Linked DNA regions of Homo sapiens: all the other regions are linked to region 1. Evidence: promoter capture Hi-C in 16 types of primary human blood cells and fetal thymus (Javierre and others, 2016). All regions are on one chromosome and are shown on one strand. The core of a region is centred on a gene start or on the middle of the fragment in contact, and the rest is flanking DNA. Distances in the headings are between cores, read along the strand shown. Region 1 holds the start of FGF8 (fibroblast growth factor 8). Region 2 overlaps BTRC (beta-transducin repeat containing E3 ubiquitin protein ligase). Region 3 has its middle 11 kb from the start of LINC02681.

Region 1 (4,564 bases), core at 305-2,804:
ACTCCCCGAGGCCCCTTCCCTAGCCCTCTCTTCCCCAGCTGACCCTCAAGACACCTTTCTGCCTTAACTCCTTCCCTTCTGAGCTGGGGACCCTGCAGGCCCCCGGCCAGTGCAGTTGGGACTGGTGGTCCAGGCGCCGCGCATCCCACAAGCTACCTTCAGCGCGCCTTACCGAAGGGGTCGCCGTCCTCTGCCATGGCGTTGATGCGCTTGTTGGCCAGGACCTGCACGTGCTTCCCGCTGGTGCGGCTGTAGAGTTGGTAGGTCCGGATGAGGCGGCGGCTGAGCTGATCCGTCACCAGGCTCTGCTCCCTCACATGCTGTGTAAAATTAGGTGAGGACTGAACAGTTACCTTTAGGAAATTGAAAAATACACAATACACCATTATAATGCTACTCCGCCCAGGGGCCCGAGTGGCCCCATCACCCTGCGTCCCCCTCACTGCCCCAAGCCGCCAGCAGGTGCTGGGGGTTCCCCCAACATGCCAGCCCAGGCCACCATCCCCCACCCACGCAAGTCGGGCAGACCCAGCCCAGGATGAACGAGCCCCAGGGAGAAGCTGGACCCACCTGTTGGGAGACACCCTGGGGCTCCCGGCCAGCCCGGAACAGGGAAGCGAGCTCCCTGCCCAGCGCAGGGCCCCTGCCCGGGCCTTCCTAGAGGAGCAGGGCGCTTTTAAGTAGGGAGGCAGCCCTCCCCGACCCCTGACATTTATAAAGACAAATTTACGGAGCAAATGTTGAGAGTGCAGGGAACCTGGGCACCCGATCATTGGGCCAAATCGGCCACAAGCCTCCCCCGAGGGGCGCTGAGAGGGTCTCTGCTGCAGTCACCCGGCTTCCCCTGGCATCGAACATCCATCCCCTGGCCGCGGCTGCCCCCTTCCTCGGCGGCTGGGTGTTCCCTATGCCCCCAGCCGGCGAGGATGCATGGGGGACAGTGCTGGGCTCCGAGACCTTCGTTTCTATCCTGGCCACTCACTCGCTGTGTGACCTCAGGAGGGGTGCTACCTCTCTGTGCCTCAGCTCCCTCCTCGGGGTGGCTCGGGGCTGGGTTTCTAAGGTGCCCTCAGCCCTCCCGCGCCGGCCGCAGAGTCAGTCCCGGTGCCCCCGACCGGCGCTGCCCACCCGGGTCTCACACCGGCGCGCCCGGCCCCCGCCTCCGCGCACCCCTCCTCACCTGGGCTTGGAGGCAGAGGACCAGCAAGTGCAACAGCCTGTGGGAGACAAAAGCGGGCGGGAGAGAGAGGCGCGGGTGAGGCGAGGGGCGCGGGGGGCGGGTGGCGGGGCAGGGCGGCGCGGTACTCACAGGCAGCTCAGCGCGGAGCGGGGGCTGCCCATGGCGCGCGGCCCCGGGGCACCGAGAGCCCGGCGGGTCACGCCGTCCCGCGGGCCGCCGCGGGAGGACGCGCTGAGCAGGGCGCGAGCGGAGAGGGTGCGGGTGCGGGAGGCCGGCGGCGATCACGACGCGGCTCCGCGGGTCCCGTGGAACGTCGTGCTCGCCGCGCCGCACCGAATCGCTGTGCGCCGCTGCCGGAGCCGGTGGCCGCTGGCTGCTCGGGAGCCGGAGCGGGCGGGAGGGTCACGGGCTGGCGGGGTGGGTGGGGAGGTGGGAGGGCGGGGAGGGGTGGGGGCGGGGGGCGCCGCACCGGGCGCGAGGGGGGAGCGCGGGGCGGGCGGCGGGAGCCCGCAGCCCCCGGCTGGGAACTGGGGCCTGGATGCAGCCCGGGGCGGGGGCGGGGCGGCCGGGGAGGGGCGGCCGACGGGTTCGGGATTGAGGGTCTGGGCTAGGGGAGGGGTCTGGGGACCCGCGGGAGGGGCGGGGGCGGCCGGTCTGGGCGCCTCCCCCTATCCCCGGCCTGTCCCCTCGCGCGCTCCCCGGTCCCGGACGCGCGGGGATGGGGGCGCCTAGGGCTGCAAACTCTGCGGGCCGGGAGACCCCGAGCCTGGGCTTCCCCGACCGCCTGGAGCGCCCGAGTCTGGCGGGTCTGGGTCTCCGCCTCCGGGCCCAGCCGCTTCCGCCGCCGGCTACGCAGTGGTCTCCGAGCCACCTACTGTGTGTCCCGCCGGGCCCCTGGGAGCGGCCGCTAACCATGCAGCGAATGGCTGCGCACCCGGCCCTCGCGCAGTGCGTGCCGGTGCCACCCGGACCCCGCTCCCCTGTTTCGGCCGCGTGCCCCGTCCTGTCGGTCTCTCCAGTCTCCTTCACTCTCCCGAGGAGGCCCTGGGAGCCAGAAATGCCTCCCCCTCCCCCCATCCCATTATCACTATCACCCCTTCCCCTGTGCCCCTCACCACACACACACACACACACACACACACACACACACACACTAGCCTGAAGCTTGAGGAGCACCCCGAGCCACCTGTGTGGAAGAGAGAGTCCGGAGGTCCCTGGCAGGACCCACTGTCCCCGTACCTCAGCAGGCAGCAGGGGCAAAAAAACTCTCAGTAGCTTTTACTGGGGGAAGGGACTTCCATCCAGGCCACCCAGCCCTTTCCCCCTCAAAGCCCCACTCGTTTTTCATTTCACAGGTATTTACACACCTACTGTATTCTAGGCAGGGGCTGGTCAGCTGGGCTTGGGGCATAGGAGAAGGTAGGCACTTGTCTAAGCCTTTCCTAGCCCCCCACCTTGTGGCTTCCCCCCTGAGGTTTCTGGAAACCCTGAGCCCCCATGCTGCTTCTGTGGGAGCAGCCTGGGTGGACAGAGATGCTCTGGGACAGGTGCCTTGTGAGGAGCAGGTGATGCCCTACCAGACTGCTGTCTTCACTTACAACCTCCCCTTCCCCAGTGACCCTCCATTCCCCTGGGGGTAGGGCTGGAGGGTTTGGTGTGGTCCCAGGAAGCCATTAGGCCAAAATTAGCGGCAGCCCTAGTCCAGCAGCACAGCCAGGCCCTGCCTCCCTCCCTGCTCTGTGTCCCACCTTTCCCTGTGCCCCATCTTTCCAACTCCCAGCCATAAATGCAAACACTGAGCAATGGAGAGATGGGAAAACAGTTAGAGGGTGCGTTCCAAGATCTTATCCCTCCTCAGAGAAGTAGACTTCCAGAGCACACTTGCCATCCTCCTCCAGGAGTCTGTTCAGTGGGCTCTTGCCCACACAGACCTTGCCCACAAGGACCATGTCTTATGAGCTCAGAAATCACAGCTCGTGGCACAAGGCTGGGCAGAGCTGTTCTGCAATTAAGAGTTCGTTGAATGAATGAATGAATGAATGATGGGGGAAGTGGCTGAGCCTGTAGACTTCAGCCTATTTGCAACTTCCCCAGGAAGACCTGCCTTCACCTCCTCCCAACAGATTATCACCAGGAACACCACCAGTTAGTGAGCACTTGTATCTGCCACAGGCTTGGCAGGCACTGTCTCCTCTAAAGCCCATGGGGAGGTGGGTCCATCAGGCGGAGACAAGTCAGGTGGACACAAGTGGCCACAGCCCAGGCCAGCCCTTGCCTTCCCTGTGTTCTGTGTAAGGCCTGAGTCACAATTCATTGAGTGTCTGTTTCCCTCTCTGCACTGCTTCAAGTGGGCAAAGGTTATGTCTGTTTGCTTGTGGTCTTACCCTCATCCTTGTACACAGTAGGCCCTCAAGCATGTTTAGTTGCGTATGTCGATGAACAAATGATTGAATGGAGAGATGGAGAGCAGGCACTTCCTGTAAGAAATGGGCTTTCTCCCACCATGGACTCTCTGAACATCAGTGAGATAAGCAGAGCAGGGAGTAGGCCCCAGGCAGGGGTGAGGGTGACCCGCCCATCCAACAGTGTTTGCATGGTCCTGGGGTCACAGCCAGAGCCACTCTGGGTACCTGCCCCTCCCTGGAATGGGGGTAGGGGCAGAGCCCCTGGCTGAGACCAGCATTCAGCTCCAGCTGTGGAACCCCCAGAAGATTCTGAGGGCCCTGGGTTGACCCTCAATGGTCTTCAGCCACCCTTCTTCCTCTGCCCCAGAGAAGATGGGCGTCCTGGGATCTGAAGGGTCCGAGGTCAAGTTTCAGTCCTGTCCCAGCCTCTGCCAGGGAGCCTGTGCTGGACCAGGATTCCTTTACATTTGGATTTGGAGACCCTCCTGAGAAGCGGACCCTCACCTAGTTCGTTGAAATTCTCATCTCCCCAAAAGTCCGTTTCTCTGGGGGAGAGGAGCAGATGGGGACACCCCGGGAGCAAGCACCTGGCTCTGCCCTGGCACGCCCCGTGACTGACAGATGCAAATGTCCCGCCGGGCCCCCGCAGGCCGCTCCCTCCCTTGCTGGCTCGCCCGCCTCCCGGCCAGCTCCCTCCCTCCTTTATCTTATCAAAGCCCGGTAATTACAATTGCTATTTTGTTTCCTCGAATCTGCAATCAGAGCTCCCTGGCCCAGATGAGGGAGCGCCTGTCAACCTGATCGCTGAGTGACAGCCCGGCCACCTTTCCTGGCCGCCCCCACACTCCGCAAACACAAACACACACACGCACAGACACAAACTCCCTCGCCTGCAAACACAAACACACACTCCTCGCCAACACAAACGGCCCATCTCCGCAGACACGCCCTCGCCTGCACCCAGACACACTACTTCAGC
Region 2 (4,627 bases), core at 1,583-4,082, 320 kb before region 1:
ATAATTCACATCCTGGGCAGGACAGAGCTACCAGAAAGGTGCACAATTGAAAACTATTTCTAAAAATTTCCATTCAATATTTTAGGACCTCAGTTGACTGTAGTAACTGAAATTGCGTGAGTGAAACTGTGGATAAGGGAGGACTACTGTAATGCTATTCATAGACTATTATTACTCAAGGACTACAAACACATTCTGCAATTTATTTACTATAATGAAACTTTCCATCTGAGTATTGGGAATCTGTTGTTCTGAGCAGTCAAGTTTGCTTAGGGTTGGTTTAAAGTTAAGCAGTAGAATATAACGTTAATTACATTTGATGGAATTTTCCCCCTAAAATTTATTTTTCACTTAACTTTTCTCCCATTTCTTAACATTTTATTATGGATTTAATTAATTAATTTTTTATTTTGACATAACTTCAGATTTATAGACAAGTGAAAAGAATAGCACAAAGAATCTCCTTACACCCTTTCACATAGATTTACCTAATGTTAACATGTTACCATATTTGTATTATATCTGCTTATAAATACATATACACACGCACATACATCCATTTATGTATTATTTTTTCTGAACAATTTGAAAGTTACAGACGTAATGTTCCATCCCCCCTAAATGTTTCAGTGCGTGTTTCCAGAAAAACAAAGACATTTTAATAAAAATAATCACAGTACAAATTATCAAAACCAGGAAATTGAATGGATAAACAAAACTGTGGCACATCCATACAGTAGATAATACTACTTGGCAATAAAAGGAAAAGAAATACTAGTATTTACAACAACATGAGTAGATCTCAGATATTTTATGCTAAGTGATAAAAGCCAGATTCAAAGGTTACGTACGATATAATTCCATTTATATGACATTCTGAAAATGGCACAAATTATTGAGCCAACAAATCAGTGATTTTCAGTGGGGAGAGGGTTGACTATTAAGGAGAATTTCAAGAGAATTTTGGGAGTGGTGGAATTTTTCATTTTTTAATGGCGGTGTTATACAACTGTATGTTTTTGTCAAAACTTACAGAGCTGTATACCAAAAAGGGTAAATTTTTCTGTATGTAAATTTTAATGGTGGGGAAACAATCAGGAAATTAATATTGATACAGTGTTATTAGTTCACCTACAGAACTTACTAAAAAGTTTCCAATTGCCTCAACAGTGTGTGCTATACCTCTTTAGTTTCCTTTAATCTGAAACAATTCCTTAGTCTATTTCATGGCCTTGACATTTCTTAGGTACAAACTAGTAACTTTATGGAATGAAATACTCATTTTTGGGTTAGCCTGATGTTTTCTTATAAGTAGATTTAAGTTTTGTGGTTTTGACAAGGATACCTCACAAGTGATGTGCTGTTTTCAGTACATCATATTAAAAGGCACATAATCTTAAGGTGGCATCTGCTGGATTTCTCCACTATGAGGTTACTCTTTTTTCATTGTAACTATCAAGTATCTTATAGAAAAAATATTTTGAGATTATGTGACCATCCTGTTAACTTGTCAAACTTTCACTCACTTATTGTAGTTTTAAATTTTACTTAGGTTTTTGAGATGGTGTCTTGCTGTGATGCCCAGACTGCTCTCAAACTCCTGGACTCAGGCAGTCCCTCTGCCTCCACCTCCTGAGCAGCTGGGATTACACGCATATGCCAAAGTACTAGGCTCACTTGCTAATTTTAGCACCCAATGATGATTCTTCCTTATATTAATCACTTATCCTTAAATAGAATTTATTGGATATAATTTAGCCTGATGATCTAGGAAAATTATGCACATAGCTTATTGGGAATCCTCATAGATAAAGATGCAAGGAATAACTGTGTTGCTGAGCTTTCCTGGGTGATGTTGGACAGGCTTTGAGAACTGTTGAGGTGACTACTTAGGTATACATGGCTATTTCATCATTACCCCTTACCCTCAAGACTGTAGACCTAGTAATCTCATTCACTGGCATTCTGCTTCTACTCTTTAGTATTAGGAGGGTTCCTAATCCTTGTTCCTGATATCATGACTGTTTAATGTCCCTACCTCTATTTTTTTGTAACAACATTATAAGTTGGATTTTTTGTTTGATTTGATTTCTCATGATGGATGGCCCAGAGTAAAAGTGTTGGGTTAATCTGTATTAAAAGAACATACCAATGTTTATGGGTTTCCCCCATTTTTTGTTTAAGAGTTATTTTTAACAATACCATTTAAATATTCTTTGCCCTAGTGGGATAGAAAGGGGAAAGGAACTCCTAAGAAGCTCTGTGTTCTATGTTAGGTTAGTAACACCCTTTAAGCTCCCTTTGTGTTTTCATTCTTTAGACATTTTCATAATACCCACCCAGTGGTTATCCATCTAAATCTGATAAAATAGAGGGTCAGTAAAAAGAAAATTGTGAGTATGGGCTAGTCAATACTCAGGCTGTTAAGGTTGAGATGACTATTTTTCACTTTATAATTCAGTATAGAGGAGTTTGCCAGCAATTGTGTATCAGCCCAAGTACCTGTATAATAAAAATGTGATTTATAGTATCTTTGGTATGACAAACTTCCAGCAAAAAGTAATTAGGCTCCAAGTTATATGATAACATTTCAAAAAACATAATTAATTTTGAAATACAGGATCTTACACTGAATTAAACAGGTTTAGTTTATCTGATCTTTTTATTTATTTATTTAAAGGAGGAATTTCATGACCTGAAAGAGAGTTACTTGCAAATTCTAAGTTTATAATTGGATACTGGCTTAAGCTTCTATTATATAAGGCATTTAATTTTGGTATTTAAAACATTGATCTTTACATTTAAAAAAAAAAAGTTAAACATACAACTTGATGTTATGGGGTAAATAAATGTTGACCTTTCCCTTTCTTTGTTTGATACTCTTACATAGCATGTATTGCCAGTCGCCTCATTTGTCAAGCTTTGTAGTCATTAATTCAATTATATCCTTCCTCCATTTTTTGGTAGATGATCTCCATTCCTTTTTTTCCAAACAGGGAGGAAAAGAAGTTAGAACTCTGAAGTTCTTGAGTCTCTGTCCCTTTCTTTGTAATATAGCATGCTTTTTCTTTAATTTTAGGGACTTTTACAAGGGATCATCACAAATGTAAAATATCAAGTTAAACCTCATAAGATATTTCTGCCCAAAAGAAACACATTAGGGTACTGGCCTGTCAGGCTTACTAAAGGTGACACACAGGTGTCAGCCACAGAGGTGAAAGGGCCTCAGAATGACACAGTACGTTTTTTATCTCTCAGTATCTTTCAAAATGTAATATCTAATAGAAACCAAAAAAGTGAAATTTACATGTAGGTTTAGAACACAGTAATGATTGTATATTAATAATTTCATGCTTGTATGAAAATTTTCAGATAAACTCTCATGTTAAAAATAATTTCTGAACCTACAAATAAACTAACCCTCCTGTTAGAACGTTATGACTATATGTAATGTAAGGAATATATTAACTGTAAGTTTTTTGTTGTTGTTGTTTTGAGACGGAACCTTGCTCTGTCACTCAGGCTGGAGTGCAGTGGTGTGATCTCGGCTCACTGCAACCTCGGCCTCCTGGGTTCAGGCGATTCTCCTGCCTCAGACTCTCGAGTAGCTGGGATTACAGGCACCCACCACCACACTTGGCTAATTTTGTATTTTTAGTAGAGACACAGTTTCAGCATGTTGGCCAGGCTGGTCTCAAACTCCTGACCTCAGATGATCTGCCCGCCTTGGCCTCCCAAAGTGCTGGGATTACAAGTGTGAGCCACCGCACCTAGCACAACTGCAGGGTTTTAAATATTAATGTTATTAATGTTACTAATGTTGTTGCTGAAAATGGAACTCAAATAATATGTAATTTGGATTTTCTGTATTTTGCCTTGTAGATAGTGATTTACATATATTGACTAGCAGATTTTTAGTACTTATGAACTCATTTTCAGTTGGATTGTTGTTTTTTTCCCCCTCCTAAGTATATAAAAACCCCACTGACATTTTAGGGCCTCTAGCTGCTGTTTGAGGTGACAGTGCCAAGGAATGGACTCTAATCCTAAACTACTGAGTAAATGTTTTTTTAAGTCCTATGCTACTTTTATCAAAGAAAATAAAATCAAATCTGAGAAGAGGGGGAAGAGAAATAACTATTTTTAGGACCCAGACTTGGAGATCTGTGCCAACCAAACATCTACTATAATCGAGAGAAGGTAATAATCATGGTTTTAGTTGTCATCAGCTAAGTGTGGGCTGGAACTTTCTTGTATCCAGTGTCAACCTGTGTCAAAGTGCAAGCTAGAGATCTAATGAATATGATCTCCTACACAATGCTTAAAGATACATGAAATACTTCCCATCTAAATCCTTACATAATTTATTTATATACATGGGCATATGTTTTCTTTTACATATGTGTATATCTGTATGTATACAAATCTTCAAGTGAATAATTGTATAAATATATGTATGTTCTAACTTACAGAATTAGAAATGTAATTCAGTTTACTCCCAAAGGATAAGATTGAAGATAATGAGAACTGAATTAAAGCTTACTTTCTTTCACAGAATTCCTCAGAGAGAGAAGACTGTAATAATGGCGAACCCCCTAGGAAGATAATACCAGAGAAGAATTCACTT
Region 3 (4,269 bases), core at 1,204-3,703, 500 kb before region 1:
GATGTCCAAGGACGAGGCCTTGGGGAACTCCTGGCATGCTTGGAGGAAAAGGAGCCAGGGACAGTGGTTGAGGGCAAGCTGGAAGGGGATGGACCGAGCAAAGACACCAGGTTAGGAGCAGGAAGGGGACCAGGAAGAGCACAGAGCTGCAGTGACAGGGTTTGTAAGTGGGGACGGAGAAGGGACAGCCACCTGGGTGATTGGCAAGCCTGGAGGCTCCGCAAGTCCAACCCCCAAGTCTGCAGGGGGCAGACACCATGCTTTGTTTTCACCTTCTCCTGGGTATAACGGGCGAGACAGTGGTAGTAGAGGTTGGTGGAGGCCGGTGGGAGAACACTGACCAGGATGGTGGAACGAAGCTGACCTGAAAGTGAGGACCCCTCACTTGACCCCTACATCATCCCCCTTTTCTTTCTAAGCATCCCTGGGCTTTAGAAAAATAGGGAGACTGAGAAGAAAACTTCTCTCTAGAAGGAGCCAGACTTTAGGGGCTGGAGGGAGAAGAGAAGAGGAAACCTGAACAGGAACCCCATCGTGCTTTTCTTTTTTTTTCTTTTTTTTTTTTTGAGACAGAGTCTCACTCTGTCGCCCAGGTTGGAGTGCAGTGGCGAGATCTCGGCTCACTGCAAGCTCCGCCTTCCGGGTTCACGCCATTCTCCTGCCTCAGCGTCCCGAGTAGCTGGGACTACAGGCGCCCGCCACCACGCCCGGCTAATTTTTTGTATTTTTAGTAGAGACGGGGTTTCACCGTGTTAGCCAGGATGGTCTCGATCTCCTGACCTCGTGATCCGCCTGCCTCGGCCTCCCAAAGTGCTGGGATTACAGGCGTGAGCCACCACGCCTGGCCACCCATCGTGCTTTTCAACATTTGTAAGCAGGCGGGGAATAAGGTAAGCTTGTGGACTCCGAGGCTCGTGTGCGCAGGCGCACATGCATGCAGGTACCCACATAGACCTGTGCTGACTTGAACACCTGCACTCACTGATTCACACGCGCATCCTCTTGAACACATGCTCACACAGCCCTCATTCACATGCCTCTTCCCTTGCCACGCACACATACTCATACTGGCATCCCTCCTAAACACATGTTCCCTCTTACCCTGCCACTCCCCAACCACACACACACACCCAGGAGAATCCTAGGAAGCTGTTCACAATAGTCCTGGATCTCCAGGAATGTGTGTGATTACCCACGATGTGTGTGTATCTATGTAAGATGCAATTCAGAGGGGTGATGTGTGGGTGGGTGGGGATGGGGGATACCCCAAGATGCGATGTGTGTCTGTAAGGGGATGAATGTAGTAAAGTGTGCATTCATTCATTCCATCATTCACTCAACCAGGTTATGGAGGCGCCACCATGTCCCAAGCACTGCACTTGGTTAAACAGTGAACCACATAGACACTATCACTGCTCACAATCTAATGAGCTCCAGAGAAGACAGGCCCTGAGGACATAGCTGGGAAATGCCGTGAAGGGGGAATGCCATGTACTATGGGAGCTGGGAACAGGCAAAGTGACCCAGAGAATTTCCCAAGAACAGGGTGTGTACCTTAGTGAATGAGTATAGACACTGGTCTGGGGGGCGCCTCTGGGATGTGAGCTGCATGTCAGCAGGTTGGAAGGTATTTTGGTGGACATGAGGATTGGGAGGTATAGGGTGTGATATGTGCATGTGTGTACAGCTGTGTGTGCATGGGAAGGAGTGAGGTGTGTATCATTATCAGAATTATTGGAGCAAACAGGCTCTTTATTATGTGTATAATTTCCCTGCGTCCCATCGGTTCCCTCTGTGCAGGGGGAGTTGGAGTGGAACTAAACCAAATAGGGGATTTAGCAACTTCGAGAGGCTGTGGCAGAGCTTAAAGTGCTGCTGATAGATGGTGGTGGCAGGCATGGGAGAGAAGAGGTGTCACCAGCAGTGGAGAGGGAACAGAAGAGGGAATTTTGATTGGGCTGGGGGCAGGGACCGGTGTCCGGTGCCCACTTTCAGAGAGGAGGTCTGGGGACAAGTGCAGGAACTGGCCGTTCTCTGCAATAACCTGAGAGAAGAAAAGGGATGGGGAGAGGGAATGCCCAATACAGCTCAGTCCTGCCTGGGGCAGGGAGTTCGGGCCTGAGGGCGTGGCTGCACAGCCTCTCTTCTTTTAGGGGTCTCATATATGGACCCTTATATATGAGGTCCATATATTTCGTGCATCTCATATGTGGAAAATGGCCCTGAAGTTTAGTGGAAATAAGTCATCTCAGTGTTGAGTTCAAATCTCAGCTCTGCAGTAGGACCTTGGGCAAGTTACTTCTCAGAGTAGTGCAATAATTGGAGTAATAATATTTACTTTGCAGGGTTGTGGTGATCAGTAGTAACATATAAAAACTTTGGCACCTTGGAAGCACTCAATGAATGATGATGTTTTATTAAAGATATTGGATCTACTTTGGGAGGCTGAGACAGGCAGATTGCCGGAGTCCAGGAGTTCAAGACCAGCCTGGGCAACATGGTAAAACCCTGTCTCTACAAAATAATAATAATAATAATAATAATAATAATTATAGGCCAGGCATGGTGGCTCACACCTGTAATCCCAACACTTTGGGAGGCCGAGGCAGGTGGATCACTTAAGGTCAGGAGTTCGAGACTAGCCTGACCAACATGGTGAAACTCCAACTCTACTAAAAATTACAAAATTAGCTGGGCATGGTGGTGGGTGCCTGTAATCCCAGCTACTTGGGAGGCTGAGGCAGGGGAATCACTTGAATCGCAGAGGCGGAGGTTACAGCGAGCCAAGATTGCACCATTGCACTCCTGCCGGAGCAACAAGAGTGAAACTCCATCTCAATAATAATAATACATAAATTAGCCGGGCATGGTGGTGTGCGCCTGTAGTCTGTTACTCAGGAGGCTGAGGTGGGAGGGTCGCTTGAGCCCTGGAGGTCGAGGCTGCAGTGAGCTGAGATTGCATCACTGCACTCCAGCCTGGGAGACAGAGACTCTGTCTCAAAAAAAGAAAAAAAAGGCTGGGCACGGTGACTCATGCTTGTAATCCCAGCACTTTGGGAGGCCAAGGGGGGCGGATCACCTGACGTCAGGAGTTTGAGACCAGCCTGGCCAACATGGTGAAACCCTGTCTCTACTAAAAATACAAAAGTTGCTGGGTGTGGTGGCGCATGCCTGTAATCCCAGCTACTCGGGAGGCTGAGGCAGGAGAATCGCTTGAACCCCGAAAGCAGAGGTTGCAGTGAGCCGAGGCCTCACCATTGCACTCCAGCCCAAGTGACAAGAGTGAAACTCTGTCTCAAAAAAAAGACATTGAATCTGTTCGTAGATCTACATCATCTACCTGCCAATCAATCTACACCTCTCCCACCCTGTAAGATTAAAACCCAGCCTGTTCCTACCCAGGCTTGTGGGTACAGCTCCTTCTCCCTGCTCTGGGGCTGGAGAAATGTTTCTGAATAACGGTGTCTGTTTCTCTGGCTGCCCCTCCAAGCATGTTTCTATCACCAGTTTCTTTTTTCTTCTCTCTTTTACTTTATTTTTTCCTGCTTAGCCAAGTAGAAAATAAGTGTAAAGAAGCAGGAGAAAGAAAACCTTTAATCCCACCACTCAGAGGCAATTATAAAAATTGCTAACATTTCTTCAGTGCCACTTTGTATCAAGTTTTGTATCCAAATGCTTCGGATGCTTTATTTCATTTCATCCTCACAATAACCCAGGGAAACTGGTACCATGATTATCCCCACTTAATAGAAGCTGAAGCATGGAAGGTACCTTGCCCAAGATCATACAGCTAGTAAGTGATATAAGAAGGATGTGACTTGGGCAAATTCCACTTTCCTTCCGGTCTTTTAGCTATTCTGTCTTCTGAGGACTTTCCTGCTGGCTTCCTATAGCCTCTTGCTGTCTTAGTTGAGCCAGATCTCTAGCCTTTACTTTACAAATATTTATTGCTCACCTCCTCTGTCTTGGGCATCTTGCTGGGCCCTGCTGGGAGGCAGGAGGCAGCTACAGAGAAGCTTTCCAGGGCCCAGCTGCCAGCAGTCCTTTAGAGCAAGGACCAGAGAACAAAATTATTGCCCAGGGATAAATCAATGCAGAAGAAGCAGCAAGAGATGCTGCCAGCAGGGGCTTGGGAAGGAGGTTCCCTGAGGATTCTACTCTCAGCTGAGCCCTCACCTAATGCCCACTTCTCCCACCAACTCCCATCACTGCATTCTATCTCTTCCTGGGGCATGGCCCTGATACCCAAAGGACCTGAGACCCTGGATC

The links. The method cuts DNA at HindIII sites, captures the fragments that hold promoters and counts their contacts. A CHiCAGO score of 5 or more calls a contact.
Region 2: a contact is called between a fragment that was not itself captured here and the fragment with the promoter of FGF8 in region 1, in 1 of 17 cell types (megakaryocytes). The highest score is 5.4, in megakaryocytes.
Region 3: a contact is called between a fragment that was not itself captured here and the fragment with the promoter of FGF8 in region 1, in 1 of 17 cell types (endothelial precursors). The highest score is 6.9, in endothelial precursors.

What each region holds. Positions count from the first base shown.
Region 1 is chr10:101,774,560-101,779,123 of GRCh38, forward strand. FGF8 (fibroblast growth factor 8) reads right to left here and starts at 1,555. Exons shown (of 6, transcript NM_033163.5): 1 at 1,310-1,555; 2 at 1,181-1,217; 3 at 571-657; 4 at 173-353. The coding sequence starts at 1,341. RefSeq lists enhancers at 1-460, 461-1,199, 1,636-2,454, 4,221-4,564 and a promoter at 1,360-4,564. The HindIII fragment of the contact is 3,344 bases long and covers 1-2,342 here.
Region 2 is chr10:101,457,426-101,462,052 of GRCh38, forward strand. It overlaps BTRC (beta-transducin repeat containing E3 ubiquitin protein ligase), which reads left to right. Exons shown (of 15, transcript NM_033637.4): 3 at 4,556-4,627. Among named protein-coding and RNA genes, the nearest start is that of BTRC, 110 kb to the left of the region's middle. The HindIII fragment of the contact is 172 bases long and covers 2,747-2,918 here.
Region 3 is chr10:101,272,489-101,276,757 of GRCh38, forward strand. No RefSeq gene overlaps it. Among named protein-coding and RNA genes, the nearest start is that of LINC02681, 11 kb to the left of the region's middle. The HindIII fragment of the contact is 3,121 bases long and covers 894-4,014 here.